Regions from separate parts of the Homo sapiens genome. Here regions 1, 2, 4 and 5 are each linked to region 3. The links are contacts of gene promoters, found by promoter capture Hi-C in blood cells and fetal thymus (Javierre and others, 2016). All regions are on one chromosome and are shown on one strand. The core of a region is centred on a gene start or on the middle of the fragment in contact, and the rest is flanking DNA. Distances in the headings are between cores, read along the strand shown.

What was found. The method cuts DNA at HindIII sites, captures the fragments that hold promoters and counts their contacts. A CHiCAGO score of 5 or more calls a contact.
Region 1: a fragment that was not itself captured here is called in contact with the fragment with the promoter of AFG2B in region 3 in 4 of 17 cell types (M2 macrophages, M0 macrophages, M1 macrophages and 1 more); the score reaches 11.1 in M2 macrophages.
Region 2: a contact is called between a fragment that was not itself captured here and the fragment with the promoter of AFG2B in region 3, in 1 of 17 cell types (naive B cells). The highest score is 5.4, in naive B cells.
Region 4: a contact is called between a fragment that was not itself captured here and the fragment with the promoter of AFG2B in region 3, in 7 of 17 cell types (M2 macrophages, M0 macrophages, M1 macrophages and 4 more). The highest score is 13.9, in M2 macrophages.
Region 5: a fragment that was not itself captured here is called in contact with the fragment with the promoter of AFG2B in region 3 in 1 of 17 cell types (M2 macrophages); the score reaches 6.4 in M2 macrophages.

Annotation. Positions count from the first base shown.
Region 1 is chr15:45,314,250-45,319,643 of GRCh38, reverse strand. No RefSeq gene overlaps it. Among named protein-coding and RNA genes, the nearest start is that of SLC28A2-AS1, 38 kb to the right of the region's middle. The HindIII fragment of the contact is 5,565 bases long and covers 1-4,300 here.
Region 2 is chr15:45,526,104-45,530,896 of GRCh38, reverse strand. It overlaps the pseudogene HMGN2P46. Among named protein-coding and RNA genes, the nearest start is that of SLC30A4, 5.7 kb to the right of the region's middle. The HindIII fragment of the contact is 4,217 bases long and covers 1,427-4,793 here.
Region 3 is chr15:45,400,842-45,406,266 of GRCh38, reverse strand. AFG2B (AAA ATPase AFG2B) reads right to left here and starts at 3,931. Exons shown (of 8, transcript NM_024063.3): 1 at 2,749-3,931; 2 at 762-947. The coding sequence starts at 3,837. It also overlaps a transcript of GATM not described here. RefSeq lists silencers at 3,099-3,248, 3,639-3,718 and enhancers at 3,799-3,958, 4,349-4,418, 4,429-4,478. The HindIII fragment of the contact is 3,246 bases long and covers 2,161-5,406 here.
Region 4 is chr15:45,293,484-45,298,429 of GRCh38, reverse strand. No RefSeq gene overlaps it. Among named protein-coding and RNA genes, the nearest start is that of SLC28A2-AS1, 17 kb to the right of the region's middle. The HindIII fragment of the contact is 8,488 bases long and covers 1-4,946 here.
Region 5 is chr15:45,332,932-45,337,937 of GRCh38, reverse strand. All of the region lies in intron 1 of LOC124903482 (a long non-coding RNA gene), which reads right to left. Among named protein-coding and RNA genes, the nearest start is that of GATM, 43 kb to the left of the region's middle. The HindIII fragment of the contact is 5,643 bases long and covers 1-4,871 here.

The sequences.
Region 1 (5,394 bases), core at 269-2,768, 84 kb after region 3:
CTTTTCTCTCTTTCTGCCTTCAGCATTGACTTAACTCCTTTAAACGCAGACACCTGTTGGGACCTGACCTCCAATAGTTGGTTACCAGTGTGTCAGGCAATCTGGACTTTCCAGCGATGCCACTGAGATGGTCTCCGTTGAAAAAGTGGCAGTTCCATTTGTAGATTGTGAATCTTCAGATAAATTCTGCCATTGTAATTTCATTTCCTGAAAGTCAGGGTCTCCTTGTAAAAATGTGTTAAACAACATGCTAAACGTGGAGTGCCAACCGTCGCTTGAAACTTTCCCTACTCAGAACATCAGATAAAGATTTCAATAGGTTTTTTTTATACGTATATACTTTAAGTTCTAGGGTTCATGTGCACAACATGCAGGTTTGTTACCTAGGTATACATGTGCCATGTTGGTTTGCTGCACCCATCAACTCATCGTTCACATTAGGTATTTCTCCTAATGCTATCCCTCCCCCAGCCCCCCAGCCCCCAACAGGCCCCGGTGTCTGATGTTCTCTGCCCTGTGTCCAAGTGTTCTCATTGTTCAATTCCCACCTATGAGTGAGAACATGCGGTATTTGGTTTTCTGTCCTTGTGATAGTTTGCTGAGAATGATGGTTTCCAGCTTCATCCATGTCCCCACAAAGGACATGAACTCATCTTTTTTTATGGCAGTATAGTATTCCATGGTATATATGTGCCACATTTCCTTAATCCAGTCTATCATTGATGGACATTTGGGTTGGTGCCAAGTATTTGCTATGGTGAATAATGCTGTAATAAACATATGTGTGCATGTGTCTTTATAGTGGAATGATTTATAATCCTTTGGGTATATACCCAGTAATGGGATGGCTGGGTCAAACGGTGTTTCTAGTTCTAGATCCTTGAGGAATCGCCACACTGTCTTCCACAATGGTTGACCTAATTTACACTCCCACCAACAGTGTAAAAATATTCCTATTTCTCCACATCCCTCTCCAGCATCTGTTGTTTCCTGACTTTTTAGTGATTGCCATTCTAACTGGCATGAGATGGTATCTCATTTTGGTTTTGATTTGCATTTCTCTGATGACCAGTGATGATGAGTATTTTTTCATGTGTGTGTTGGCTGCATAAATGTCTTCTTTTGAGAAGTGTCTGTTCATATCCCTTGCCCACTTTTTGATGGGGTTGTTTGTATTTTTCTTGTAAATTTGATTAAGTTCTTTGTAGATTCTTGATATTAGCCCTTTGTCAGATGGGTAGATTGCAAAAATTTTCTCCCATTCTGTAGGTTGCCTGTTCACTCTGATGGTAGTTTCTTTTGCCCCGCAGAAGCTCTTTAGTTTAATTAGATCCCATTTGTCTATTTTGGCTTTTGTTGCCATTGCTTTTGGTGTTTTAGTCAGATTTCATTGGTTTTTATACTGGCTTTCTGATTTTGATGGTCCACGGAAGGAGGAAGTTTGAACGTTGTTGTATACTGTTAACAACTGTCTGCCCATGTCCTGCCTGGACTATCATAATTGTTTATGAAGAGTATCTTTAATAAAGCTGGATGCAGTTTGACTTAGGAAAAAATATTAATTATAAGAGCAAACACTGGAAACAACTAAAGGAAAATGGCTAAGCTAATTACAATGTAATATTTAAATATTATTTAATTAAATAAGTTACATTAAAAAGATAATCATTAATTTTAAAAAGCACTAATGTAATGTTTATATAATATTAAGTGAAAAAGGGCAGAAACAGTATATACATTTTACATATGTATATATCAACTACATTAAAAATACACAAAGAAAAAAGTCTGGAAAGAAATAACATAATTCATCAATTCTAAAGATGCATTTTCCACCATCACACACATTCTCTAAAATTGGGTCACATCGTACACCAATGCATTAAATGTAGTGTCCTTTTTTTCTAAAAAGCTATTGGAATATTTGAATTTCCATTAATGTATTACTTTATTTTTTTTAATGTCAATGAGCTTATCTGGGTAGTGAGATTATGGGTCATTTTGTGTTCTTCTTTGTTCTTTACTATATATTTTTTAAAACTGTATTTTAAATTTTTTAGGAGATTGTCATGGGAAACCCTAGGCAAATTTCTGTTATTAACATGTAATGATTTGTTTTCATTTTCTTTTAGTAGGACAAGGGAGCTAACAAATAATGATTATTAAGAAATTTTTGATAGGATTTGTGTGATCCTTCCCAGACTCCGTGTGTTTGTACTACAATATGGAAAGAGTATGTGCAATGTTTGCAGAACACATGTAAGAAGTCACACTCTTCTTCGTTAATGCTTACTTGCTATTTAATGATTCCGTTAGAAAACTGAGATGGAGGTCAGGTGCAGTGGCTCACACCTGTAATCCCAGCACTTTGGGAGGCCAAGGTGGGCGGATCACTTGAGGTCAGGAATTTGAGACCAGCTTGGCCAACATGGCAAAACCCCACCTCTACTTTCCATTTCATTTCATTTGAAAGCCTAGTCCAGAGACAGGAGATTCTCTTTATTTTTGGCAAGGTTCTAAATGGCTAAGTGATGAAAGGAAAAGGGAATCCTAGTACACTGTTGGTAGAAATGTACATTGGTACAGCCATTATGAAAAACAGTATGGAGGTTCCTAAAGAAATTAAAAATAAGGCCAGGCATGGTGGCTCATGCCTGCAATCCCAGCACCTTGGGAAGCTAAAGCTGGCTGATTGCTTGAGTCCAGGAGTTTGAGACCAGCCTAGGCAACATGCAAAACCCCGTCTCTACTAAAAATACAAAAAATTAGCCAAGCATGGTGGTGCGTGCCTGTACTCACAGCTACTCAGGAGGCTGAGGTAGGAGAATCACCTGAGCCCCAGAGGTTGAGGCTGCAGTGAGCCAAGATTGCGCCACTGCACTCCATCCTGGGCAGCCAAAGTGAGACCCTGTCTCAAAAAACAAAACTACCATACAACCTAGCAATCCCTCTTCTGGGTTACATTCCCAAAGAAGATGAATTCACCATCTCATAAAGATATCCGCACTCGCATGCTCATTCACAATAGCCAAGATATGGAAACATCTAACTGTCATCAAGAGATAAATGGAAAAAGAAACTGTATATATATAAAATGCAATACTATTCAGCCACTGAAAAGGAGATCCTGTCATTTGCCACAACATGGACGGACTTCAGAGGACATTATGTAAGTGAAATAAGCCAGATACAGAAAGAAAAATATTGCCTGATCTCATTTATATGTAGAATCTTTTTTCTTAAAGTCAAATATATAGAGATAGAGAGTAAAACAGTGGTTACAAGGCGTTGCGGCGGAGGAGAAGAAATGGGAACACATAAGTCAAAGGTTACAAAGTAGCAGGTGTGTAGGATGAACAAGTCTAGTGATCTAATGTGCAGCATAAGGACTAAATAAAATTGTATTCTATTAGGAATTTTTGTTAAATAAGCAGATTTTAGCTGCACTTATTGCACACAAAAAAGTAACTATGTGAGATTATAGACACGTTGATCTGCTTCACAATAGTAACCATTTTCCTATCCATGTGTATCCCATAATATTGTTATAAACCTCAAAATACACAATAAAATTTTTATGGCTAGGGCCAGGTGTGGTGGCTCACAACTGTAATCCCAGCACTTTGGGAGGCCAAGGCGGGTGGATCACCTGAGGTCAGGAGTTCAAGACCTGCCTGGCCAACATGGTGAAACCCTGTCTCTACTAAAAATACAAAATTAGCCAGCCATAGTGGCAGGCAACTGTAACCCCAGCTACTTTGGACGCAGAGGCAGGAGAAGTCCTTGAACCTGGGAGGTGGAGGTTGCAGTGAGCTGAGATGCACCACTGCACTCCAGCCTGGGTGACAGAGGGAGACTCCGTCTAAAAATAAAATAAAATAAAATAAAAAATAAAATAAAATTAAATAAAATAAATGGCTAGGTGATTATAATACCACTTATTTATTAATCTTTTCCATATTGATTTAAAATGATGCCTGAGTAATATACAAATCTCTCATATATACATTCTTAGACGCTCAATACTGCTCCCTTGAAGTATAGGTTTCTGCATAATATACCAAACTGTTTTAATCATTGTAACTTTGTGATTAAATATCTAATTAGGTCAGTGTATTGGTTATCTATTGCTGCATAACAAATTACCCCCCAAATTCAGCATCTTAAATCAACATTTATTATCTCACACAATTTTTGAGGGCCAGGAATCTAGGAGCAGCTTAGCTGGGTGGTCCTGATTCAGGGTTTCTTATGGAGTTGCAGTTAACGTGTTGGTAGGGGCTGCAGGCACTTCAAAGCTTGACTGGGGCTGAAAGATTCACTCCTAACTCATTCCTGTTGCTGTTGGCAGGCATCAGTTCCTCATCTGATGTTGGCCAGAGGTTTTGATTCCTTGCCTTGTAGACCTCTCCATAAGGGCTGCTCACATCATGGCAGCTTGCTTCCTCCAGACCGAGAGTGTGTCCGGAATTGGCAAGTTCTTGGTCTCACTGACTTTAAGAATGAAAGTGCGGACCCTAGCGGTGAGTGTTACAGTTCTTAAAGGCGGCGTGTCCAGAGTTTGTTCCTTCTGATGTTCGGATGTGTTCGGGCTTCTGGTGGGTTCCCGGTTTCGCTGGCTCAGGAGTGAAGCTGCAGACCTTCGCGGTGAGTGTTACAGCTCATAAACGCAGTGTGGACCCAAAAAGTGAGCAGCAGCAAGATTTATTGCAAAGAGCGAAAGAACAAAGCTTCCACAGAGTGGAAGAGGACCCTACCCAATTGCCACTGGGGCTCGGGCAGCCTGCTTTTATTCTCTTATCTGGCCCCACCCACATCCTGCTGATTGCTAGAGCCCAGTGGTCTGTTTTGACAGGGCGCTGATTGGTGCCTTTACAATCCCTGAGCTAGACAGAAAGGTTCTCCACATCCCCACCAGAGTAGCTAGATACGGAGTGTCCATTGGTGCATTCACAAACCCTGAGCTAGACACACGGTGCTGATTGGTGTGTTTACAAACCTTGAGCTGGATACAGAGTGCCGATTGGTGTATTTACAATCCCTGAGCTAGACATAAAGGTTCTCCATGTCCCCACCAGACTCAGGAGCCCAGCTGGCTTCACCCAGTGGATCCCGCATGGGGGCTGCAGGTGGAGCTGGCTGCCAGTCCCGCGCCGCGCCATGCCCCTGCACTCCTCAGCCCTTGGGTGGTTGATGGGACTGGGCGCCGTGGAGCAGGGGGCGGCGCTCATTGGGGAGGCTCGGGGGGCACAGGAGCCCATGGAGGGGGTGGGAGGCTCAGGCATGGCGGGCTGCAGGTCCCTAGCCCTGCCCGGCAGGAAGGCAGCTAAGGCCCGGCGAGAAATCGAGCGCAGCGCTGGTGGGCTAGCACTGCTGGGGGACCCAGCACACCCT
Region 2 (4,793 bases), core at 2,286-4,785, 130 kb before region 3:
ACTATGTTGGCCAGGCTGGTCTCAAACTCCTGACCTCAGGTGGTCTACCCACCTCAGCCTCCCAAAGTGCTGGGATTACAGGCATAAGCCACAACACCCAGCCATTTTTTTCAAGAGATATCTGGACCAGAAAACAAATTTTGACATAGGAAATTTTATGCCCATCCCTTTCAACTGCCCCAAGGTATGTGTCTTGCAATTCAGTTGACAGGCTTCTGCTATTGCCTAAATCTGCATATTACGAGTTGCCTGGTTGAGAGACTAGCTAAATGGTTGGCAGCCTTTTCCATCTGCCATGCAAGAAGTTATTCAGGCTGGGCTTGGTGGCTCGTGCCTGTAATCCCAGCACTTGGGAGGCTGAGACAGGAGGATCACTTCAGCCCAGGAGTTCAAGACCAGCCTGGGCAACATAGTGAGACCTGCCCCTCCACCCTGTCTCACTAAAATAAAAAATAAATAAATTCTTCAGACTAGAAAAACGTATGAAGTCTCTTAAAAAAGAATGGCATACTGAGCAATAGCTAGCAAACAGAATTGCAGGCAGTACCGAGATTATAAGTGTGCACTGTTTCAAAAGTTCATTTGTCTATTATTATAAACTCCGAGTGCGTAGAAATAAGGTTGCAAATTGTAGTTACATTCCAAGCCTATTTGCAGAAGTCTATGTATTTAGCCCATTTTGAAGCTCAGTGATAGAAATCATGCCACTAGTCTGAGGGCAGGCTGAGGAATAAGAGCCCATGTGATAAAGGAATAAGAAAAGTGTCTTTCCTGGTATGCAGGAAAACTGATACATAACATATTAGTTATCTATTGCTGTGTAACGAAGTATCCCAAAACTTGCCATCTTAAAACAAACATTTCTTATCTCATGCAGTCTCTGTGGGTCATCTGAGAATGGCTTAGCTGGGTGGTTCTGGCTCTGGATTTCTCCAGGTTTTAGTTAGCACTGCCCAGTCTATAGTTATCTGAAGGCTTAGCTGGGACTACAGGGTCCACTTCCAAAATGGTTCACTCACATGGCTGTTGGCAAGAGGCCTCAGTTCCTCATCACACACGCCTTTCCACAGGGCCACTTGAGTTCCTCATGACACAGTAGCTGGCTCCTCCTAGTGCAAGCGATCCAAGTGTGAGGATGAGGAGGCAGCTGCAATACCTTTTATGACCTAGTCTTATAAGTCACACAGAGTCACTTCTGCCATATTCATTACAGGCCACATGCAACTCATTTAGTGCAGTCCACGCTCAATAGGAAGGAAATTAAGCTCCACCTCTTGATAAGTAGAGTATCACAGAATTTGTGGATATACTTTAAAATCACCATATAGAGTTTTTGTTGTCCTCCCATCACTTTCTCCAGGTACCCAGTGAGAAAAATAATAAAAACAAACTGGGAGGCAGAACTGCAGCCCTATTCAACAAAGCTTGCTGTAAGTACCCAAAACAATTCACGCTCTTTCCTTAACTTTTCTTAAAAACATTTATCCAATTTCTTTAAATGGAATCTTCTTTGAAGGATTTATACTAAAGAGAAAATGATCACACTCCTAAAATATTTTCTTTATCCGTTTGTATCTCTCATTAGTAGAATTTCAGACAGTATAACAAAGTGAAATTCAAAACAACTACAAAAAAACCTACTCCCAAACCCGGTGGATTAAAATATTTGGAGTTAGGAAAGCAACCCCCAGTAAGATCTCTCCTTTCAGCTGATTATTACCAGAGTGCCCTGGTTAACCAGGAAATAGTTTTCCCTTCCTGGTCTAGGGAACATGGAATCTCTGATCTAGGTTTCCTACCTTGATTCCCGTGGCTGCAGCTCTGTAGAAATATGATGGGCATTTAAATCCGAGGAGTCATATTTAAAGGAGTTGATTTCTTGCATCTGAGGCATACAAGATTCTAAAGTGCCATTTCAATCTTCAGAGGAAAATGACGTTTCATGTGACTTTTTATTGTATTTTTTGTAACTTGAAATTTGGTAATACATGGGGACTGTTATAAAAATACAACATTCATAAACACTGGATAGGCCGGGCGCGGTGGCTCACGCCTGTAATCCCAGCACTTTGGGAGGCCGAGGTGGGCGGATCACGAGGTCAGGAAATCGGGACCATCCTGGCTAACACGGTGAAACCGCGTCTCTACTAAAAATACAAAAAATTAGCTGGGCGTGGCGGCGTGCGCTTGTAGTCCCAGCTGCTGGGGAGGCTGAGGCAGGAGAATGGCGTGAACCCAGGAGGCGGAGCTTGCAGTGAGCTGAGATCGCGCCACTGCACTCCAGCCTGGGCAACAGAGTGAGACTCGGTCTCAAAAAAAAAACGCTGGATAAATAGGAGTTTGCCCTACAATTCAACTCAAGTAGAAGCTAGGGGCTGGACCTTTAAGATGAGCTCTCCTGACAATGTTGTTGTTTTTAACCTAATTTGAGTCAATCCAATTTGAGAATACGATGAAAGCTAAAAGACTTATCCCAGAAAATATACATGTCCTCAAAATTTTGCACATAAGTTTAAGGCCTCCCAAACTCCCTAAAACCCACTCAGAAAATCTAGATTAAGAATCTCTAAAACAGCCAGGTGTGGTAGCTCATGCCTGTAATCCCAGCACTTTGGGAGGCTGAAGTGGGTGGATCACTTGAGGCCAGGAGTTTGAGATCTGCCTGGCCAACATAGTGAAACCTCGTCTCTACTAAAAATAGAACAATTAGGCTGGGCGCGGTGGCTCACGCCTGTAATCCCAACACGTTGGGAGGCCGAGGCAGGTGGATCACCTGAGGTCAGGAGTTCGAGACCAGCCTGGCCAATATGAGGAAACACAGTCTCTACTAAAAATACAAAAAATTAACTGGGGGTGGTGGCAGGTGCCTGTAATCTCAGGTACCCAGGAGGCTGAGGCAGGAGAATTGCTTGAACCCTGGAGGCGGAGATTGCAGTGAGCAGAGATCGTACCACTGCACTCCAGCCTGGGCAACAAGAGCAAAACTCCATCTCAAAAAATAATAATAATAATAAATAATAACAATAAAAATAGAAAAATTAGCCAGGCATGGTGGTGCTTGTGTGTAATCACAGTTACTCGGGTGGCTGAGGCATGAGAATTGTTTGAACCAGGTAGGCAGAGGTTGCAGTGAGCCGAGATCACACTACTGCACTCCAGCCTGAGTGACAGAGCAAGACCCTGTCTCAAAGAAAAAAAAAAAACAAAACTGTAAGATTTTGCTAGGGGTGCATATTGCCATTCCATTGTGATATTATAATTTAGGTTTAAATCAGAAGCTACTACAGAATTTAAATATTGGCTGGGCATGGTGGCTCACACCTGTAATCCCAGCACTTACAGGAGGTTGAGGCAGGAGGATCACTTAAGCCCAGGAGTTCAAGGCCTGCCTGGGCAACATGGCAAAAAACCATCTCTACAAGGAAAAAAATACAAAAATTAGCCGGGCATGATGACAAGCACCTATGGTCCCAGCTAGTCAAAAGGCTGAGGCAGGAGGATAGATTAAGCCCAGGAGGTCAAGGCTGCAGTGAGCCGAGATCGCACCGCTGCGCTCCAGCCTTGGCAACAGAACGAGACCCTGTCTCAAAAAAACAAAAAACAAAAAAGCCACAATTATTTCTTCTTCCTCTTTTTTTGGTTTTGTTTTGTTTTGATTTTTAAAGATGGGGTCTCCCTCTATTACCCAGGCTGGAGTACACTGGCACAATCATAGCTCACTGCAACCGCCAATTCCTTGGAGGCTTTAAAAAAATTTTTTGGAGAGACGGGGTCTCAATATGTTGCCCATGCTGGTCTTAAACTTCTGACCTCAAGAGATCCTCTCCCCTTGGCTTCCCAAAGTGTTGAGATTACAGGTATGAGCTACTGCATCTGGCTGTTTTTTGTTTTTTTTGTGAAACAGACCCAATAGCCAAAAGGACACCTCTATAGGCACACCTTGTTTTATTGTGCTTCACTTTCTCGCACTTGTTAGATATTGCCAGTTTTGCAAATTGAAGGTTTATGGCAACCCTGTGTCAAGCAAATCTGTCGCCGTCATTTTTCCAATAGCCTGGGCTCACTTCATGTCTCTGTGTCACCTTTTGGTAATTCTCTTAATATTTCAAACCTTGTCATTATTATTATATCTGATATACTGATCTGTGATCAGTGATCTTTGATATTACTATTGTAATTATTTGGGGACATCACGAACCTTGTCCATATAAGATGACAAACTTAACTGATAAATGTTGTATATGTTTTGACTGCTCCATTGACCAGCCGTCCCCCTTCACTCTCCCTCTCCTTGGCCCTCCCTATTACGAGACACAATATTAAAATTGGGCCAGTTAATAACCCTACAATGACCTCTAAGTGTTTAAGTGAAAGGAAGAGTTGTATATCTCTCACTTTAAATCAAAAGCTAGAAATTATTAACCATAGTGAGAAAGGCATATGGAAAGCTGAGATAAGGATGGGCATGGTGGCTCACGCCTATAATCCTAACACTCTGGGAGGCTGAGGTGGGAGAATTGCCTGAGCCTGAGCAGTAGAGGTTTCAGTGAGCCATGATTGTGCCTGTGCACTCCAAAAAAAGGAAAGAAGGAAGGAAGGACGAAAAGAAGGAAGGAAGAAAGGAAGGAAGGAAGGAGGGAGGGAGGCAGGCAAGGAAGGAAGGAAGGGGAAAGGAGGAGGGAAGGGGAAGGAAGGAAGGGGAAAGGAGGGGGGAAGGGGAAGGAAGGAAGGGGAAAGGAGGGGGGAAGGGGAAGGAAGGAAGGGGAAAGGAGGGGGGAAGGGAAGGGAGGGAA
Region 3 (5,425 bases), core at 2,682-5,181:
CTGCCCAAAATGCAAAACCTGAATTGAATCATGAAGAAACATTAGTCAAACCCAAACTGACGAATATTCCACAGAATAACTGACTCTTAAAAAGTTATGTTTTCATAGAAGAAAGCCTGAAGTATGATTCTAGATTAAGGCCTATTTAGGTTAAGTACAAGTATTATGTCTGCGTTAATTTTCTCAGCTTGATCATCATACTGTGGTTAAGGTCCTTGTTTTTCAGAAATATACACTTACGTTTTCGCGGGTAAAGGGGCATCATGGATGTAGTATATGCTCAAATATTTCATTATATATATGTATATATATAAGGAAATACACATGAAGAGAGAATGATAAAGCAAATGTGGCAAATGTTACATTTGGAGAATCTAGGAGAAGGGTATATGGAAACTCTTTGTACTATTTTTGTAACTTCTAAGTCTGAAATTGCCTCAAAATAAAAAAATTCAAATTAAAAAAACTCTTTGATTCTTCTGGGGCCACACTATTTCTTGGCTGCTCTGGGCTTCAGCACTAGGGAGTTACTATAAGAGTAGGGAACAAATTCACTCAGTAGACCCAGAGGACTCAGCCCTTTATCCCCACCCTCAATCATATACTATTTATATAGAGTTGAGATGTAAAATGTATAAGCAACAGCTGTGGAAGCTATCAAATGTTCTAAGGAAAATGTACTCACCGCTTTTTTTTAACCCCCAAATTAATCTGTTACAATAATAGATTAACATAGATGTTCATAAATTAACACTTCTTACCTTCTCACTATGAAGGAGGGCATGCATGGCAGCCTCCCTACAGAGTGCTGTCAGGTCGGCACCAACATAGCCAACTGTCATTTCTGCAAGAAGGCCCAAATCAACATGACTGGAGATGGGCATCTTCGAGGTAATCACTTGCAGAATTTCCTTTCTTTGTTTAAGTGTGGGAGTCCCAATGACCACCTATATGCAAAGCAAAACAAAAAAAAGAAGAAGAAGTATATAGTTTAAAATATATTATTTTTAAAGTTGATCTCATGGATGGAGGTAGACAGCAGAATGATAGCAACCAGACACTGGGAAGGGTTGGGGGTGAGGGGATGAAGACAGGTTGGCTCATGGGTACAAACATACAGTTAGGTAGAAGGAATATGTGTAATGTTTGATAGTGTAGTAGGGTGACTATAGTTAACAATAATTTCTCGTATATTTCAAAATAGCTACTAGAGAGAATCTGAAATATTCCCAACACTCAGATAAGAAATGATAAATGTTTGAGGTGATGGATATCCTAAGCACCCTGATTTGATAATTACAAATTGTATGCATGTACCAAAATATCACATGTACCCCAAAACATGCACAATTATGTATCAATAAAAATAGATCAATTAAAAAAGAATTACTTCCAAAAAAATTTTATATATGTGTGTGTATACATATATATATTTTTTTTTTCTTTTTTTTTTTTTTTTGAGACACAGTTTCACTCTGCTGCCCAGTCTGGAGTGCAGCGGGCACCATCTCAGCTCACTGCAACCTCCACCTCCTGGTTCAAGTGATTCTGGTGCCTCAGCCTCCAGAGTAGCTAGAACTACAGGCATGTGCCACCATGCCCGGCTTATTTTTTGTATTTTTAGCAGAGACGGGGTTTCACCATCTTGGCCAGGCTGGTCTCGAACTCCTGACCTCAGGTGATCCACCCACCTCAGCCTCCCAAAGTATTGAGATTGCAGGCGTGAGCCACCGCGCCCGGCCAAAATAATAATATGTTTTTTATCCTGACAAACATGTACGACAATTTAGTGAACCACTTTGGAACTAGTACCGTGCACTTTACGTATACTTTAGATTCTGAATATACGAAAATCCTAATATTCCAGAGGAGTAACACTGGCTAGAAAGTTGCACAATGAAAATTCTATGTCATTTAACAAGTTTTTGTTATTTTTAAGAACACACAAAGTTCTAGAAGCCAGGTATAGATAGCTAGGTCCCTGCCCTTAAGGACACAGGTACTAGATAGTGCAAGGAAGAAATCCACTCAAGTCCTGAACTAACTGAGCTAAAAGTGTGTAATTATCATTTCTCTTTTGAATCCTATCACAAAATAGAAATATCAGTCACTAAATTTCAAACTGTTCTTTAGAATTCAAGTCAATTTAGGACCAAAGCTTAAAATAGGACAGCTCTGAATATTCAACCTCCCTGACAACTCAGGGAGCAGTTGTGGGTACCTCCTCAATTGTGGAATAGGATGCTGGTGTTATGACAAGGAATGAATAAATCCAGAAGAGTTAATGCCTGCTTCCATTTAGTTCTTCCCCACCTTCTCCCTTTTTATTTCAACACACTTACTTCTTGAGGCTATCCTTCTTTAAATTCTCATTCCAAAAAATGAGTTTAACACGCTTGTAGGTGACCAAAATTCTCTTAAGAATTAACATTACTGATTATAGGACCTGCACAACAAAATTAATCTGTAATGGACACCTCGCTTCCCAAAACAATTAGACTCTGGGGAAACAGGTCCTGACTCTCAGATCCTGACTCACAGGTCCTGACAATTTGACTCTGGGGAAATACAGGTCCTGACTCACAGATCATATATCGGCAGAGAACGTGTTCTCTGCATTGCAAAGAGCCCCAACTCCAACCTCACCGATGCTCAAACCTAAGAGGCAAACGCCTCCGGGGCAGCCAAATGGCGCCAGAAGCGGCCGAGGTTCCACCGACAGTGGGCAAACCCGCCAAGCCCATTCACCTCTCGGTCAAATCTCCCGGGCCTACGCAGCGCTGGGTCTAGAGCGTCCGGCCGGTTAGTGGCTCCCACAACCACGACCTCGCGGTCCCCACTGGCGCCGTCCAGCAGCGTCAACACCTGGGCCACTACGCGGCTCTCGGGTGCTCGACTGCCCCGCTGGGGACACAAGGCGTCCATCTCGTCCAGGAAGAGGAGGCTGGGTCCGCGGCTGGCCAGTTCCCGGGCGCGCTGGAAGACCCGCCGCACGTTCTCCTCGGTCTCCCCAGGCCGGGAACCCTGCAGCGCCGGGGCGCTGACTGCCAGCAGCTCCGCGCCCGCCTCGCGCGCCACGGCCCGCACCAGCTGGGTCTTGCCCACTCCGGGGGGCCCCGCCAGGAGCACCCCGCGAGGCACCGCTAAGCCCAGCGCGGTCAGGGCGCGCGGGTAGCGGAGCGGGAGGCGGAGGAGCTCCCGCAGCGAGTCGGCCGCCTCCGAAAGACCTCCCAGGGGCACCTCGGGCTGCGGCTGGGCTTCCGACGGAGGCTCCCCGCCAAGGCTGACGCGGGTACGAGGGGTGACCAGCCCAGCGGGATCGGGACTGGGCGTCCCGCCGACGATGTGCAAGGCAGCCACCAGGCCAGGAGCGCCTGGCGGAGCGACCACCACGTGGCCCAGGGAGATCGGTCGGTTTCTCAGCAGCTCCTGTGCCGCCTCCAGCACCGCGGCTGTATTCCGGGCACCGGGCGCGCCTGCCCGCTCTCGCAACACCGGCCACACGGCGACGCGCCGCAGGGGCGGACAGGGCACTAGGAGGAGGCGATTCAGGCTGAGACTCCTCCGGGATCTCGACGCCCCGACCGCCGCCCCGGGGCTCGCGCACAGCGGGTCCAGCTGCACAAAGCCGTCCGCTCCGTCCCGCCGAGGCCAGGCAGTGCAGAGGCAGGAGCCGCCGTCGGGTAGCGAGATCTTCACTGCCGAGCCCAAGCGCGCGCCCAGGGCGTGGAGGGCGGCCGGGCCCAGGCGGCAGCGCTGGGTGCCCCGGTCTCTAGCGTCTAAGGGTAGCAGCTTTAAGAGCGGCCCTTCAGGGAAGGGATCCGAGTCCGGAGCCATCGCACACAGATGAACCAGGCAGACGAAACCAGATTAGGAAACCCACCCGGCCCACAAAAAGCGGAACACCGAGCTCGCAGGCCGGAAGCAGATTGCGCGCATGCGCTAGGGCAGACTGCGTTGCTAGCAGCTGAGTGAAGGCCGAAAGGGCCAATGGAAACGTTAGACGACGCTCGGGCCTCTGGGTAGAGCGTTGGTGTCCGCTTTCGTGAAATCGAGTTGCCTAACCCAGAGCTTTCCCGAGATGGTCTTCGTTACAGGTGTCTGGGAGGCGGCTTAAGCTCACTTCACTAGGTCATTAAGCATGTACTTTGGTGGTTACATATATCTTGGAAGTCACCGGCTTTACATTCTGTTTTCCTGGCCTTCGAACTGGAGCATCAGTACTACCGCCGTTGGAATAGCAACCTAGAGACTTTGCTATTTTGTGAAGAAACTCTAACTATCCGCATGGGCACAGAATTTTGGGTGCTCTGGTGCAAATGTCTCAGGTGACTTGGCGTAACTGAGAATACAGCCTTGGGACCTTCGGTAATCGGGGTTCCAATCTGGGAGGTCCAGGCACAACCCTTCCTATGGGAAAGTACCAGCATAGTGGGAGGGAAGCACACGGTAGCGCTTAAAATCCCTTGTAGAGAGGAAAGAAGGAAAACTAGGCTACCTGATGGATTTGTAGCACACCAACAGTACATTTGTTCTGATTTCTGATATTCTTTTGAATATTCTTTGGCAACAAGTTAATCACTAAAGTTCATGCGATCAATGCTTACTGTCTAATTGGGGCACAACAGTACTAAGTCCTGTATTAGAGGCGATACCTATCTACGTTATTAAGACAACTGCCTGCTATTTTTTTTTTCCAGCTGCTTTCTGCCTTTCCCTTTCGCACAGGGAATTCCTTTTTATCAGCTGGAATACATTTTCTATCCCTCTTAATTGCCGTTAAAAAAGAACTACAGATACTCAAAGACAAGAAGATATACCTTGTTTTTATTTGACTTACATCTTCCTACCTCTATTTTCCCCACTTTCACTGCAACCCAAATTTGTGAGTTGACAAAACTGATATTTTAGAGTGCTTAAGTTGCTGGGAAGTTTTTTTTTTCTATCTATGCAAATAATCAATTACAGACTGTGTAGTAATATCTTATCAATGGGAAGTACTGTCAGATCTGGGATCTTAAGACCCATGCCAGTTCCTGATCTCATTCTGTCCAAACTTCATGGCAGACATGACAGACTTCTTGACTTGACAGTAACTTACCTGGTCTCAGCTGTACTTGTCTGCTTAAATCGATTCTGGAACAATTTAGGAATCAGAAAATAGCAGGAGGAGGTCTTGAAATGGATAAGTCACCCATTACTTCCTGTTTTCTTTTTTCCTCTTAATCCCATTGGCTTCAGTTCTTTTTGGTTTGGGGACTTTTAAATAACAGCTTTGCATTTTTTGAAATAAAAAAAAAGCCATCGTTTTTACCGACCCCTAAAGGTGTGAATTACATGCCTATCAAGTTATTTTATCAGAAGCCTGTACCTCATCGAGTTCCTTCTATTCAGCTCCAAGAAGCTTTAAGGATCTGGGAGAGGG
Region 4 (4,946 bases), core at 886-3,385, 110 kb after region 3:
CCAGCATTGAGTGTCTGTGGTTTTTCCAGGAGCACAGTGCAAGTTGTCAGTGGATCTACTATTCTGGGGTCTGGAGGATGGTGGACGTCTTCTCACAGCTCCACTATGTGGTGACCCAGTAGGGACTCTGTGGGGGCTCCAACCCCACATTTCCCTTCTGTGCTGCCCTAGCAGAGGTTCTCCATGAGGGCCCCACCCCTGCAGCAGACTTCTGCCTGGGCATCCAGTCATTTCCATACATCTTCTGAAATCTAGTCAGAGGTTCCCAAACCCCAATTCTTCACTTCTGTGCACCTGCAGGCTCAACACCACATGGAAGCTGCCAAGGCTTGGGGCTTGCACCCTCTGAAGCCACGGCCTGAGCTCTATGTTGGCCCTTTTCAGCCATGGCTGGAGCAGCTGGGATGCAGGGCACCAAGTCCATAGACTGCACACAGCACAGGGACCCTGGGCCCTGCCCATAAAACCATTTTTTCCTCCTAGACCTCTGGGTCTTTGATGGGAGAGGCTGCTGCAAAGGTCTCTGACATGCTCTGGAGACATTTTCCCCATCATCTTGGGGATTAACATTTGACTCCTCATTACTTATGCAAATATCTGCTTGAATTTACAAATATCTGCTTGAATTCCTCCTCAGAAAATGGGATTTTCTTTCTTTTTTTTTTTTTTTTTGATGGAGTCTCACTCTGTTGCCCAGCCTGGAGTGCAATGGTGCAATCTTGGCTTACTGCCACCTCCATCTCCTGGGTTCAAGTGATTCTCTTGCCTCAGCCTCCTGAGTAGCTGGGATTACAGGTGTGAGCCACCATGCCTGGCTAATTTTTGTATTTTTAGTAGAGACGGGGTTTCACCATGTTGGCCAGGGTAGTCTAGAATTCCTGACCTCAAGGGATCTGCCCACCTCAGCCTCCCAAAGTGCTGGGATTACAGGTGTGAGTTGCCGCGCCCAGCTAGGATTCTTTTCTATCGCACTGTCAGGCTGCAAATTTCCTGAACTTTTATGCTCTGCTTCCCTTTTAAAACTGAATGCCTTTAACAGCACCCAAGTCACATCTTGAATGCTTTGCTGCTTAGAAATTTCTTCCACTAGATGCCCTAAATCATCTCTCTCAAGTTCAAAGTTCCACATATCCCTAGGGCAGAGGCAAAATGCCACCAGTCCCTTTGCTAAAACATAACAAGAGTCACATTTGCTCCAGTTCCCAACGAGTTCCTCATCTCTATCTGAGACCACCTTAGCCTGGACCTTATTGTTCATATCACTATCAGCATTTTTGTCAAAGTCATTCAACACATCTCTAGGACGTTCCAAACTTTCTCACATTTTTCCTGTCTTCTTTGAGCCCTCCAAACTGTTCCAACCTCTGGCTATTACCCAGTTCCAAAGTCGCTTCCACATTTTTGGGTATCTTTTCAACAACACCCCACTCAACTGGTACCAATTTACTGTATTAGTCCATTTTCACGCTGCTGATAAAGACATACCCAAGACTGGGAAGAAAAAGAGGTTTAATTGGACTTACATTTCCACAAGGCTGGCAAGGCCTCAGAATCATGGTGGGAGGCAAAAGGCACTTCTTACATGGTGGTGGCAAGAGAAAATGAGGAAGATGCAAAAGCGGAAACCCCTGATAAAACCATCAGATCTCATGAGACTTATTCACTACCATGAGAACATTATGGGAGAAACTGCTCCCATGATTCCACTTATCTCCCACTGGGTCCCTCCCACAACATGTGGGAATTATGGGAATACAATTCAAGATGAGATCTGGGTGGGGAACAGATCCAAACCATATCAGTCTGGCTCCAGTGAGTGTGCTGCAAACCCACTATAACCACTGTCTCCGGAAGCCTAGGATGAACATGGCTATAATTCAAGAAGCAAATTACTGAGGCTTCCCTCTTTCTTTGAGTCAGGTTTCAAAGACATGGGAGATGGGGGAGAAGGATGAGGAAGAGGATCAAAGGGTTTTTTTTTGTTTTGGTGCTGTGTTCTCTGAGCTTGGTGGGTTGAATGATGAAGTGGTGATATAGTTTGGATATTTGTTCTCTCCAAATCTCATATTGAAATTGATCTCCAGTGTTAGAGTTGGGGCCTGGTGGGAGACGTTTGAGTCAGGAAGGTGGATTCCTCATGACCAAATTGGCGTCATCCTCACTGTAATGAGTGAGTTCTCTATTAGCTCACAGGAGAGCTGATTGTTTAAAAGAGCATGGCACTCCTGTCCCCTCTCTTGTTCCCTCCCTCACCATGTGACACGCCTGCTCCCCTTTCACCTCCAGCATGGTTGGAAGCCTCCTGAGGTCCTGGCCGGAAGTAGATGCTGGTACCATGCTTCTTGTACAGCCTGCAGAACAGTGGGCCAAATAAACCTCTTCTCCTTATAAATTACCTCAGGTATTCCTTTACAATAATGCAAAACAGACTGAGTAAACATAGAGGATGTGAGTATTCTTTTGAAATCATTTTTAAAATTTATTTGCTAAAATATTAATAGAAAAATTATTAATAGAAAAATTATTAAATGATCTCTTATTAAAATGGAAAAAGATGGCTTGGTGCAGTGGCTCACACCTGTAATCCCAGCACTTTGGGAGGCCAAGGCAGGTGGATCACCTGTGGTCGGGAGTTCAAGACCAGCCTGACTAACAAGGAGAAACACCATCTCTACTAAAAATACAAAATTAGCCAGGCATGGTGGCACATACCTGTAATCCCAGCTACTCAGGAGGCTGAAGCAGGAGAATCGCTTGAACCTGGGAGGCAGAGGTTGTGGTGAGCCAAGATCGTGCCATTGCACTCCAGCTTGGGTAACAAGAGCAAAACTCCATCTCAAAAAAATAAAAAATAAATAAGGAAAAAGACATGACTATTTAATACTAAACCATAGTGAAGAATTTTAAAGAGCAGGATACCCCAGAAGTTTGTAAATAGAAAGTATTTTTGTTTCAATATTAATAGTTAAAGAGATATGTAACAGCTGTGTAAATGTGGGAGTGGGGGGACTGTCCATTAAGTTTATACACTCCTTTCAAATGATTCTGTAGTTGCAAGAATTTCAGCTCACCCTCAAAATGTCTAGAAATAGAGTTTTTCTCCACAAGTGCTATTCTTTGCTATACCACATTACGTCATACAATTTATAGAATGACTATGAGGAATTAAAATGTTAAGATTTTATTTGACATGGTAATGTTTATTATTTCAAACCTAATTCAGGTAGGATCCACAGACAATTTTAAATATTGTTGAGGAAGTTTTCATTGTTAGGATACAGCGAACCAAAACCAAACATTAACATTTTCTATTAGAGATATTGGTGAATTGATTGTAGAATGGGAAGTCACTAGCTTTGCCAACAAAAAGGTAGCCTGAATGAGGAATGCTGAGGAAATGGACCAGTCTTACGCATGGTGGTATGCTTAAACTCCAAAGTCTTTTCCACCTAGGGACTGGCAAAAGATGGTGCCCTCTAGAGAAGTGCTACAATGAAAAGGGAATGGAATGCATGGTGGTTCAGAATGATACAAAGCAATGAGACCGTATTAGTAAGCTAAGCAGCTAGGGAAAGCCTTCAGCAATGACTTCATGAACAAAAATTTATTTTCCCTTTCATACCCCACATTACACCAATAAGAAGTTCTGTAAAGTGTGCAGTAAAAACCACTTCCTTCAATTCTACCCCTGTCAGGGAATCACTCCCCAGGCTTTGTCAAAATCAAGTTTATGCTTTGCAGTTTTATTTATTTCATGGGCTTTCATCTTAAAAATTGAGTTAGCTACTCAGAAGGTACTTCTTGTGGTGGGCCTCTCAGCAGGCCCCTCAACACACCTCACCCTCCTCTCTGCCAGAGTAACACTGTCCTTGCCTCTCTGAGTTAGAGAGTGGCAGTGGGGTCGGCCAGGGAGTTTTGCCACTTACTTTCTAGATAAGTTGTCCTTGCTCAAGAAGGAGGGTGGTACGCGCCCTCACTGGCTCTTTTCAATCCTGGCCCATCATTACTGCTGGAAGAAATCCCCCCAGATTTCTAGTTTATATATGATTTCAACCTTGGTTTTCTGTAGCAATAAATTATTTTCCTCTGTATGTGTACTTTATTCATTATTTCAATGGACTTTTGAGCAAGAGGAGCTAGGCTTCCACACTCTACGACCATCCTGCTCAGGAGAGTCATATGGAAGGGGCAGCCAGAAGACACTTAAAAGAGCAGTCGGAGAAGTAGGAGGAGAACCAGAAGAGGACAATGCCATAAGGTTTACATATGAAGACGAGCGGGAGGTTGCAGTGAGCAAAGACCATGCCACTGCACTCCAGCCTTGGTGACAGAGCGAGACTTTGTCTCAAAAAAATAAAAAAATAGCTCTGCCTCTGCCTCTGCCTCTGCCTCTCTGCCTCTCTGCCTCTCTGCCTCTCTGCCTCTCCCTCTGCCTCTCCCTCTCCCTCTGCCTCTCCCTCTCCCCACGGTCTCCCTCTCCCTCTCTTTCCACGGTCTCCCTCTGATGCCGAGCCGAAGCTGGACTGTACTGCTGCCATCTCGGCTCACTGCAACCTCCCTGCCTGATTCTCCTGCCTCAGCCTGCCGAGTGCCTGCGATTGCAGGCGCGCGCCGCCACGCCTGACTGGTTTTCGTATTTTTTTGGTGGAGACGGGGTTTCGCTGTGTTGGCCGGGCTGGTCTCCAGCTCCTAACCGCGAGTGATCCGCCAGCCTCGGCCTCCAGAGGTGCCGGGATTGCAGACGGAGTCTCGTTCACTCAGTGCTCAATGGTGCCCAGGCTGGAGTGCAGTGGCGTGATCTCGGCTCGCTACAACGTCCACCTCCCAGCTGCCTGCCTTGGCCTCCCAAAATGCCGAGAGTGCAGCCTCTGCCCGGCCGCCACCCCGTCTTGGAAGTGAGGAGCGTCTCTGCCCGGCCGCCCATCGTCTGGGACGTGAGGAGCCCC
Region 5 (5,006 bases), core at 801-3,300, 66 kb after region 3:
GCCATACCCACAAGAAAGTTAACTCAATTTCCCACTTGCAGACTACCACCCTGAGATGATTTATGGACTCACTAGCTATCTCATCATGTAGACTTTTTATCCAACCACAAAAGCTAAATCAGTTTTTTTCTTTCCTTTTGTTTTTCTGAGACAGTGTCTCACTCTGTCACCCAGGCTGAAGTACAGCGGCGCGATCACAGCTCACTGCAGCCTTAACCTCCTAGGCTCAAGTGATCCTCCCGCGTTAGCCTCCCGAGTAGCTGGAACTACAGGCACGCACCGCCATGCCCAGCTAATTTTTTGTATATTTTGTAAAGGCAGGGTTTCCCCATGTTGCCCAGGTTGGTTTCCAACTCCTGGGCTTAAGTGATCCTCCCACCTCAGACTCCCAAAGTAGTAGAATTACAGGCATAAGTCACTGCTCCTGGCCAAATATGTTTCTTTCCACACCAGTATTTTTCTTCCTCTATTGTAATGAAAGCCAAGCCTCTTTGTTTGCTCAATAACCATGATAGTAAATTACCAGTCTACAGCAAGCATTCTACAGAGTGAAGGAAAGACATGGTATTAACTATTCCTCTACACTGAGTTATGTGAACGGATCAGAGAAACCTGGTTTTTTCTTCTGTTTTTTTTTTTTAATTCAAAATTGGCTTTTATTCACAAGCAGTTGCATAGACCTTCCCATCAACATCACTGGTGTTTTCCAATGCCAGACAAGGAATTGGAAAGGAAACAATGGTCAAGTATATAATACACATGAATAAGGAAATTTGAATTAACCATTTCTCCCCAGGATTCTTTTTTTTTTTTTTTTTTTTTTTTGAGACAGTCTTGCTCTGTCACCCACGCTGGAGTGCAGTGGTGCAATCTCGGCTCACTGTAACTTCCACCTCCTGGGTTTAAGCGATTCTTATGCTTCAGCCTCCTGAGTAGCTGGGACTACAGGTTCATGCCACCATGTCCAGTTCATTTTTTTGTATTTTTAGTAGAGACAGGGTTTCGCCATGTTGGCCAGGCTGGTCTCGAACTCCTGACCTCAGATGATCTGCCTGCCTCAGCCTCTTCAAAGTGCTGGGATTACAGGCATAAGCCACCAAGCCCTGCCTTTCTCTGACTCTTAAGACTCCATCTTTTCATTCTTTGATTCTTTCATTCTTTGAACCCAGACAGAGAAAGATTCCATGTGGCTTATTCATCATCTAATTCTTGCTAAACCTCCTTCTACTGATAAAGGAAGTTGAGGGTTAACAGCATCAAGAGCCAATGTGTTTTTACACGTAGGCCTTCAGTCAGTACCACATGGACAATAATGATAATAACTTACACGTCTAAGTAACTTTGTAATTTACAAAGCACTTTCACAGCTATCTTATTTGCTCTTCTTAATACTTTGTATGGTAGACAGGGATTACTAGCCTAGCTTTAAAGACAAGACTGAGGCTCAATGAGATTAAGTGACCTGCCCAAGGTCACACAATCAAAAAGTGATAAAGACAAGAACTCAGGTCTTCTAAAATCCAGTCCAGTGCATTTTCCCACTATATCATACTAATGAAATGGGCTCTCAGCTGCTAAATCTGCCTTTAGAAATATCCAGTGCATGAGCCTATACTGTAGACGACAGGTGTCACACGGCTGAAGAAAATAATTGATGAAACCTATGGAAAGAACCAGTGACAAAGTTCTATAGTTTTCTCAATGGGTTATTTCTTTTAAAAAATAAAAAAAGAGGTGCCATTATGCAAAGCATAAAAATTTTTAATGACTCTAGCACCCCTTCTTTTTCCTGTGACCCTATTCTTTTCCTCAATTAATGCTGAGGCTGACTTGCAGTTCTGAGTTACATCAGTCTGGATGGATCTGTTAATGCCTTGCTGCGCAAGCTGTAGTGCATGGATGGTAGACAGATAGCATCAACATAATTTAGGAGCTTGTTAGAAATGCAGATCCTCTGTAGGTAACGATAAGGGAAAAAAAATGCAGATTCTTAGGCCAGATTCTCACCCTAGATCTACTGAATAAGAATTTTAATTTTAACAAGATTCCCCAAGTGATGTAAGGGCACACTTGTTCGAGAAACACAATGTTAATACGTATTTACAGACACATGTCAATGTCATACCGAAAATGATGCCATAGTAGCAGTTCATTAACGAACAAATAAAACACAGGGTCTATTTCAGAGTAAACGTATAGTATAGAATGACAGAAATAATTAGTAGATCAAAAGATATGTGAAAATTGAAACATTTGACTTAGGTTCTGGCTAACTCAGGTAGTTCAAATGACCATGAGATGTTGAAGTCATGCTGGTTACTGTATTAAAACATACAAACAGTCATTCCAAATAATGTTCTTAGTAGTATAAGCAGCAAATATGGGAAAATTTCCCATTTTCACATCGCCCTTACGTTCACAGAATTTCACCCTCTGGAAAGAGCCTACAGTCACCTAGCCACATATTTCTCTGCCCCGGCTGTATATTAAAATCATTTGAGGAGGTTTTAAAATCTGTAGTGGCCCCATCTCCAGAGGTCTTATTTGATTATCTAGGATGGGGTCTCGGCTCCCATGATTTAAATATGTAACCAGAGTTAAAAACCACTGCCTACTCAACTCCTTCACTGTACAGATGAGGAAATTGGGGATTTAATTAAAATAGTACCAATATAGCATGTTTAAATAAAAATGTTCATCAATAGGGAATGATTTATATAACCTGAAACTTGTTGACCAGGTGAGAGGCTTAACTGTTTCAACAAGTGTTTACCATTTACCATTTACTTTTTTTTTTTTTTTTTTTTTTGAGACAGAGTCTTGCTCTGTCACCCAGGCTGAAGTTCAGTGGATTGATTTCAGCTCACTGCAACCTCTGCCTCCTGGATTTAAGTGATTCTTCTGCCTCAGCCTCCCGAGTAGCTGGGATTACAGGAGCGTGCCACCTTGACCAGCTAATTTTTCTATTTTTAGTAGAGACGGGGTTTCACCATGTCTGTCAGGCTGGTCTCAAACTCCTGACCTCGTGATCTGCCCACCTCAGCCTCCCAAAGTGCTGGGATTACAGGCGTGAGCCACCGTGCCCAGCCCTTTTTTCTTTCTTTTCTTTTTTTTAAGGAACTATTTTTTTTTAAGGAACTAAAATAAAGGTCTTCTTTGTCCTTTAACTCTGAACAAAAGTTAACCTTTCTAACCTTTCTTTGGAAGAATTATTAACCAAATATTTACCTAAAGGGGCTGACATTGGGAAGTTTCAAAAGACTACAACTTGAAATAACATAATTGACTTCCATTTTTTAACTTTCTCTTAACCGAAATGACTTTAGCGTACATTCAAATAGTTAGAAGAGCTCTTATAAGTAGCTTACAAAGTTAAAAAACCAAACAAGAATAAAAATATGAGGCAAACAGGAAGTGTGGTGATTCTTTTTTTTTTTAATGACTGCACATTTTTTGACACACCTCCCACCAAGGGTGGGGTCTATTCCTTCCCCTTGGCACTGAGCAGGCTTGTGATTGCTTTAACCAATAGAGCAGGGCTCTGCAAACTATTTCTGTAAAGAGCCAGACAGCAAACATTTTAGACTGCAAACTATATGATTTCTACTGCAACTAATTCGTTCTGCCATTGTAGTGTGAAAGTACATAAATGATTAAACATGCTATGTTCCCATAAAACTTTATTTTTTTATTTTATTGTTATTTCTTGTTTTTGAGATGGAGTCTCACTCTGTTGCCCAGGCTAAAGTGCAGTGGTGCGATCTCGGCTCACTGCAACCTCTGCCTCCCAGGTTCAAGTGATTCTCCTGCCTCAGCCTCCTGAGTAGCTGGGATTACAGGCACACGCCACCATGCCCAGCTAATTTTTGTATTTTTAGTAGAGGCAGGGTTTCACCATGTTGGCCAGGCTGGTCTTGAACTCCTAACCTCATAATCTGCCCACCTCAGCCTCCCAAAGTGCTGGGATTACAGGCGTGAGCCATCACACCCAGACAAAACTTTATTTTAAAAAAAGACATCGCAGATGGATTTGGCATTGGGCCATAGTTTGCTGATCCCTGCAACAGAGTGTGGAAGAAGAGATGCTTTGTGATTTCTGAGACTAGGCTATAAAAGGCCATGCAGCTTTTGCCTGGATCTCTGGGAACCTTCTCTCTTGGGAAGCTCCCTCTTGGAGCCTGGCCAACATTCTGCAGGAAGCTCAAGCCATAGAGAGAGGCCATATGCAAGTTCTGTGGTCAGCAGCCACAGCTAAGCCTAGCCTTCATGTCATCCCAGCCCAGGCACCGGATCTGTGAGTGAAGAAGGCTCCAGATGGTTCCATTTCCAGCCTTTCAAGCCACCCCTCAGCATTTGAGTCGTCCCAGCTGAGGCCCTGGAAATCATGGAGCAGAGACAAAACATCCACACCATGCCCTATCTGAATTCCATAAGGATAATAAAATTGTTGTGTTCATGTTGCTAGGTATAGAAGTGTGGTTTGTTTTGCAGCAATAGATAACTAGAACAGGGACTCACTAAAAATCTAAGAGCACACAAAGAAGGCTAAAAATCTCAGAAAAGAAAGTTGGAGTCAAATAATTCAATTGAAAATATTTATGCCTTTTTTTCAAAAACAAGTTATGCTTTTTGTTTTTTATTTTTATTTTTTGGTGGACTTTATTAACTAATTAAATGGTTTATAGAAATCTTGTCTCTGAAGGTGAAAAACAGCAGTTTGTTCCTTTTTTCCTGTTTGTCTATTTTGTATTTTTTGAATCAAATCTATTAAGAATTTGTACTCAATTGGGGGAGAATTGCTTCAGTGATTTTTGTATTTCTGCTTGGATGAAATATAACTGGTTAAAATTTTAAAATTAAAACTGTAAGCTTTCTATCTGGGTCTGGATATACTTTTATGCGTCTGTGAATGTGTAATATTTTCTTACCTCCAGATGATATTGACACAATATTTTTTTCTTGGTCACTTTGCCAGCCGGGATCTCCGGCCAGCGACGTACCACTCC